2 separate regions of the Homo sapiens genome follow, and region 1 is linked to region 2. The links are contacts of gene promoters, found by promoter capture Hi-C in blood cells and fetal thymus (Javierre and others, 2016). All regions are on one chromosome and are shown on one strand. Each heading gives the region's core, a stretch centred on a gene start or on the middle of the fragment in contact. The rest is flanking DNA. Distances are from core to core; before and after follow the strand shown.

The links. The method cuts DNA at HindIII sites, captures the fragments that hold promoters and counts their contacts. A CHiCAGO score of 5 or more calls a contact.
Region 1: a fragment that was not itself captured here is called in contact with the fragment with the promoter of LINGO1 in region 2 in 1 of 17 cell types (endothelial precursors); the score reaches 5.7 in endothelial precursors.

Annotation. Positions count from the first base shown.
Region 1 is chr15:77,122,221-77,125,637 of GRCh38, reverse strand. All of the region lies in intron 9 of PEAK1 (pseudopodium enriched atypical kinase 1), which reads left to right. Among named protein-coding and RNA genes, the nearest start is that of TSPAN3, 53 kb to the right of the region's middle. The HindIII fragment of the contact is 2,001 bases long and covers 602-2,602 here.
Region 2 is chr15:77,631,464-77,634,583 of GRCh38, reverse strand. It overlaps LINGO1 (leucine rich repeat and Ig domain containing 1), which reads left to right and starts at 1,672. Exons shown (of 2, transcript NM_032808.7): 1 at 1,672-2,274. The coding sequence starts at 2,269. RefSeq lists enhancers at 719-848, 290-853. The HindIII fragment of the contact is 14,548 bases long and covers 1-3,120 here.

The DNA.
Region 1 (3,417 bases), core at 353-2,852, 510 kb after region 2:
CTTTGCCATTACTTGCCTTTTCTATATCCAGTGTCTTTATCTGTAAAATGGAAAAAATACTTCAGGTCTTCTTAAAACCATTGTAAAAAATCACAGAAGTTAATATGTATGTGGTGATATATATACACACACACACACATACACACACACACACACACAGTGCTGAGAGCATCATTTGGCACAAAGTTAAGCATTTAGTAAAAGTTGGTTATTCCTTCCTTTTCACATACTTAGAAAGCTCCTATGTATTCTTAAAGAATCCAGCTCTGAATTTTCTACTTTAATTTTCTGAGCACATGTTGCACGCTATACCTACTGGATTTCTTGATCATTGCATTATCATGAGACAGTTGTATAATTAAACAAAAACATGCTTCCTCTCCCCTCTCCCCACTATTATACTTGACCTTTTCCATGGCGGGGACCATGGCTTATTAATTCTTATATCCTTAGCATCTATTATAATATCATGTCCATAGCTGGCATTCAATAAATATTTCTTGACCCTTCAAAAAATGTTTACTGTATAAAACATTGTGATATTTGTTGTAGTTTACAGAAATACATATGAATGAAACAAAGGCCTTGCCCTCAAGAAGCTTATATTCCAGTAAGAAAGACAAAGGCATAAATAATAGCTCTTAAAACAGATTATAATGAAAGTTCAGAGTGGTATGCAGAGATGTAAAGATAAATGAAGATTAATGAATGAAATAAGTTATTAACACATATCTTGGGGCCAATAAGAAAGGGCCTTTTGTATCCACTTTGCTATTCTTTGTGGTAAATGCAGTACATTGAGAGAATAGTGGAAAATTAGGCTACGGAGAGATTAGAGAACAAATTTAGAGATTTGAGTGATGAGCTTAAGAGGTTAGACTTTATTTTGTGTTTTGTGGGAAGCCACTAAGTATTTTTAAACAGAAATAACATAAGATTTTGGATGACAACTATGGTAAGAGAGGTCAGAAGGACTGGAAGCAAGGAAGCCAGTCATTATGCTATTGCAGTAGTCCAGGTAAAATGAGACCTGATGTAAGGCAAAGGAAAAGAAGGGGCAGATGGCTAAAGAGCTGAGGAAGGCAGTAGACCATGTCTGGTGAGTATGGGATTAGGGCAGTGATGCTAAAATTTCAAGGTAGAACAACCTCCAAGAGAATGGTGATGCCATTAGTTGAAATATGAATCAGAAAAGCCAGAAAGATGAGATCTCAATGGGTTATGCCCATAGGGCAGCCAAGTTGAAAGAACCCCAGGAACCAGGTAAAAATATGGGTTTGGTACTCAGAAGAGAGCTCAAGCCTAGAAATGTGGTCATAGACTTGATTTAGTTGAAACTGTGGGACTACATGAGATTGTAATGGAAGAGTCTGCAAAGTGGGAAAAGGCCCACACATCTAAGTGACCCAAAGCAGGAGCAATTGGAAAATCTGTAGCAAAAGGCAGGGCCCTACAGGCCAGAGAGTCCAAGGTTGCAGAGGGCTTGTGCAGAATGAAGACTCAGAAGAAGGCAAGAATTTAATGTCTTGTAAGCCTCAAGAAAATGCAATGTTGGTAATAATTGGGGTGAATGCCAGACACAGTGAGTTAAAGAGCGAATAGGAAGAGGAAGCTGTGGAGGCAGTGAGCACAGCCTACTTTTTAAATAAATGTTTTGGTGAAAGAAGAGCCAAATTGATTTCCAAACAATATTTAATTTTCAACTCCCATTTTCCATCTCATCCATATCTTCTTTTATCCTCTCTTCCCCATTTGATGAGCCACCACCCAGATTGCATTGTCTGTCTCTGTGGGCTATATATTGGCTGGCCTTCTGCCGTTAACTTAAATATTCCTGCTCGCAAAGTAAAACTTAACATAAACTTAAGCCTGAACTTAACTTCCCTGTTCTCTAAATAAAAATCTACCTTGCTTTTTCCCTTTCAAAGAATCTGGGTAAGCACTGACCAAGTACATAATCCTCATATCCTCATAGTAGACTAAATCCTCATATCTAAATCCATAGTAGACTAATCCCTCATATCCTCATAGTAGACTAAAGCCAATTTTAGAAGGGCCTTCACCATTCTACACAGTGGGAAACTAAGGCCAGAGAGGAACAATCACTTCTGCATGGGGACACCATCTTCGTGGCAGGCTACCTCCTGACTCCTAGGTAGAACCTCTCCTATTATTTCATGCCTGAAGCAGTAAACTGACCTTGCTGTGTCTCAGTGTTGTTTCTTGATGGAAAAATGACAGCCTTTTGCTTAGAATCAGGATGGACAGTTGGCAAAATTATGGCTTAGTATCACTGAGATATTGTTTTTTCATTGCACTTATGAGATCATTTTATAAAAAGTACTACCATGCGAGACCACAGAGGAAATTTGGATGCAGTTACTTTGAAGAGGATGCTAAAAATTTCACATAAGCAAAAAGTATAAATTTTTTAGTTATTTTCCAACAGTTCCAGAATTGGGATAGTAGGTATCTTTAAAGTAGTCCCAGTCTTTGTTCTCAAGGATAGAACACACAAAACTCAGTAAAGATGTACACTTCCCTGTTACAAAAGCGGGGCTGCTTCCTTTCTTCCGGCTATGCCAGAATCTTGTTAAAAGCTTGTAATAATGTAGAGGTGAACTGTGGAGACCAACATCTTTTACTGCATTTTTGACTCCAGAGTCTCCGTTTATCTCATTTGGGTGGATGCTGACAAAACAAGATACTAAATGAAAAAGCATTACAGGAACAACTATGATTGGTAGGAATTTACAACTAGTTCAGACTATATATACAGACAATTAATTACTGGCTTAGTGGTGAGGAAAAAACTAGAGGGGAAACCACTTCCACTTTCATAATTCAAAATAAATATTTTTAACAGTGAAACTTTACAGAAAGTGATTGATCAGCAGCCAACTACACATACTCATGGCCATCCTAGTTTTGTGTCCGTTTTGTTTCAGGCTCAGTGCATACAGAAGCACCTGAGTCTCAACTGGGAATTGATTTAGGAAGGAGAGGTTTTGGATGTTTGTGTAAACCTGGAATCAAAATGAGTTGTCTGGTGGGAAAAGGGAGCATGGCTTTAATTAATGAGGTGAGAGGATATAGTTGAGAATCACAAGTTGGAATTCAAGTTAATTGAATTCCTAATGTGGGCCCTGAGCTGGTTATTGGACTACTCTGTGCCTCAGTTTCTCTAGTGTGAACATCCTGGGCATCATTCTGTCAGCCTAAATTACTGGCTCAGGAACACAAGTTATTTTCATTGGATACACATGCTGAGTGGGAGAGTGAAAAGCTTTGGTGAGTACAAGTCACAAATAAAATGGTGAAATCTTACACAGTTACCTTCTTGAATTTCTCTTCTAGGATCCAAAATCACTTTCTTGGGCATGTGAACATTTTTGCAGCAATTCAAGCTGTAAATTA
Region 2 (3,120 bases), core at 423-2,922:
CAGTTCCCTTTCCGTGGCTTGCTGGCTGTGTGACCATGGGCAGAGCCTGGAACCTCTCTGGGCCTGGGCTTCCCTCCCTCTGTCACAGGGGAACAATAGTGCCTCCCCCAGAGTTGCTGGAGGGTGAACGTACAGTTCACAGTAGAGCATAGCATGGACGCCTGCTAGGAGGGACTCTAGCTAGGCCTAGGTTGAGGATGGGCATAGACATAGGAGACAGGAGAAAGTGCTCCAGACAGGACTGTCCAGAGCAACGGTGTGCCAGAGAGACTGAGAAGTACCCAGAAATGGTGCAGCTGGAACAGAAGGTCTGTGCAAGCCTTTGGGCTGTGTGTGAGGCTGAACAGCGAGAAACAAGGTGCTGTTGGGGGTGGGGAGAGGTCCCTCCGTGGCAACCAGGCATCTCTGCAATGATGTTGCGCAGGCTTCCTGGGAGAGGGGGTGTCACTGGAACTGGGATTCCAGCGTCTGCCCCAGAATCCGAGAGGCTTTGGGCTAGATCCCCTCCCCCAGCCTCAGCTGCCCCTGTGGACTCAAGCTATTAGGAGTATTCATGTGCTAATGGGTTGTTCCCAGCAGGGGAGGAGGGATGGCCGTGCCGGGCGGTGTCAGCATTGATGGTTATTCTAATAAAACTGGCTTGGTGGTAAAGGGCGTCTGGCTTCAAGGAGATGGAGGGGGTAGTATAGGGAAAAAGGTGAGGTCCTGAGGGTGGTAACCTACTCTGCAGGCTTTGCCAAGACATCCCTGCTGGCCTAGTTTCTGTATCTGAGGATCAAGGAGGATCTGGATCTCCGAGGAGAGGTCCCATTCCTTGGGCCCGTCTGAAGTTGTGGCCCCAGCCGAGGATCCCCGGGACCATTCCGGGAGGAGGGAACAGTCAAGCCCAGGCGGAGGCTCTGCGCTGCCCTCTGCTGGCCACTGGGTGCAGGGCCTCCGGACGGAGCGGGCCAGAGAGGCCTGCCGCCCTCTGCTGGACAGGAAGCCAGGCTGGGCGGGGACCCCGGCTCCTGGGTAGAGCTGCCGGGCCAGCGCGGCTTCCTCGCCGTCCCCTGGAGCTTCCCATTCTGCCTGCCTCGCCCTCCCGCGCTAGAATGTGGGCCCTCTAGCCTCGCGGACTTTCGAGAGGAGGGGACAGGGCCAGGACGGGGGCTCCCGGTCGGCCTCCCCATGCCGCCCTCCAAACAACCCTGTTCGTGTAGGGAGCCCTGTCCGTCCTCGTGCGTGTGTTCGTCCACAGCCCAGTTAACACGTGTAAACACACTCGCGCGCTCACATGCACACGCATGTGGCAACACAAAAATCACACACAACGGTGTGCGCGCATACACCCAGGGAGGACCGCACGCCGGACTCCCCGACACCCGGCTGGCCCGGGACTCGCCCAGAGCCCCGGACCCGGAGGGGCGCGGCCGTGTGCAGAGCTGGAGCGCCTGGCTGGTGCGCCCCTCGCCTGCGCACCCCTGCCTGTTTCGCTGCCCTAAGCGTGCAGGGCAGCGGCTGGGGCGCCCCTCGCTCTCCGCCCCCTCCGCTGAAAGGAGACGAACCACCCCCCACCCCACCACCACCATCACCAGGTTTTGCGGCCGCGCCTTCTCCTCCCCCGCCCGGCTCCCGCGGCTCACTCGCTCCCTCCTCCCTCGATCCCTCCTCCCTCCCTGGCTCGCTCCTAGTGCTCCCTCCCCGCGCCGCTGCAGAGCGCGGAGCCCGAGCGGGAGCCGGCGCGGGAGCCGGAGCGGGCGGCGGGCGACAGCGCAGGCGGCGGCGGCGGCGGTGGGTCCTGGTCCCGGCCCCGGAGGGCGCGGAGTCCCCACCCGCGCCGCTCCGGCCCCTCTCCCGACGCGGGGCGCCGAGCAGCATGCGCGGCCGCTGCCCGCCGGCCCCGGCCCCGCGGCGGAGCGCGCCCGGCCTCGACCCCGGCCCCAGCGGCAGAGGCGGCGGCGGCGGCTCCGGGCCGGCCCAGGGGGCAGAAGCAGGCTCGCGCAGCCCCTGTCCCGCGGCCTGAGCGCGCCCGCCCATCCGCCCGCCGGGGCCGCGGCCTCCCGCCTCCCCACTCCCGAGCCCCGGCCCCGGCTCCGGCTCGGCTCCCGCCCGCGCGGGGCGGACAGACGGACAGCCAGCCCCGCGAGGGCGCGCGGACTGCCGGGCGGAGGTGTCGGAGGAGGAGGAAACGGAGGAGGGGGCTGGGCAGGGGCTGGGGCCTGGTCGGGCCGGCTGGAGAGACATGCGATTGGTGACCGAGCCGAGCGGACCGAAGGCGCGCCCGAGATGCAGGTGAGCCAGGCGGCCGCGGCCGAGCCCCGAGCGGGCAGCCCCGCGGCGAGTGCCCCTGGGGGCCGCCATCGGCCCTGGCTGCGCCCTCCTGGGGTTGCAGGGCACCTCGGTGCCACCCAGACCTCCTTTGGGGTCATAGGCCTGATTTCCCCTCAAGCCTCAGAAATGAAAATTCTTCCTTTTCCACCTCCCCTCTCTCCAACCCCAACAAATTCCGGGTTTGTAAGCTGGGAGCCTGGAGCTGGGGAGGGGCCCCCACGGGTGTCCCAGACCTGCTCTGGTCTCCCCTTCCTGTCCCCCCTCCCATTCTGAGTATTGGTCACTCTAGAGGGTAAGCCCCCTGCTCAGCCCTGGGTGGGTACCTCCCTTCGTGGACCCCAGGTACCCCCAGGCAGCCCCCACCAGCACCAGACACTCCCTAGCTGGTGGACACAGGTCAGGGGCTGGGTTTCTCCACAAGCTCCAGCCTGGATGGCAGCTCCCCACCACACACAAGCATCGCCCCTTTCCAGCTCCTGCCCAGTGAAAAGGAGATGGGGAGTAGGGAGAGTGGAAGGAAGGGAGTTGGGGACCGGGAGCGCCCAGGAACGCTTTAGGGGCCTCCCCTTTGTCTGCGTTCAGCCCGGGCTTCTCACCTCCTCTTGCCCCACTTTTCATTCTAAGGCAGAGCGGGTGGGAGGTGGGAACCAGCTGAGAAGAGGGAGGTAAGGAGGGAGCCTCCTGCTCCCCCTCACACCCTTTTCGGGGTGGGCTGTGGGCTCTCTGCTCTCAAGGCATGCCAGGAGATGTGACCCTCCGGGCGGATCCCACTTTGAGAAGGAGGGGTGGGGCCAGGCCAGTGGGCAG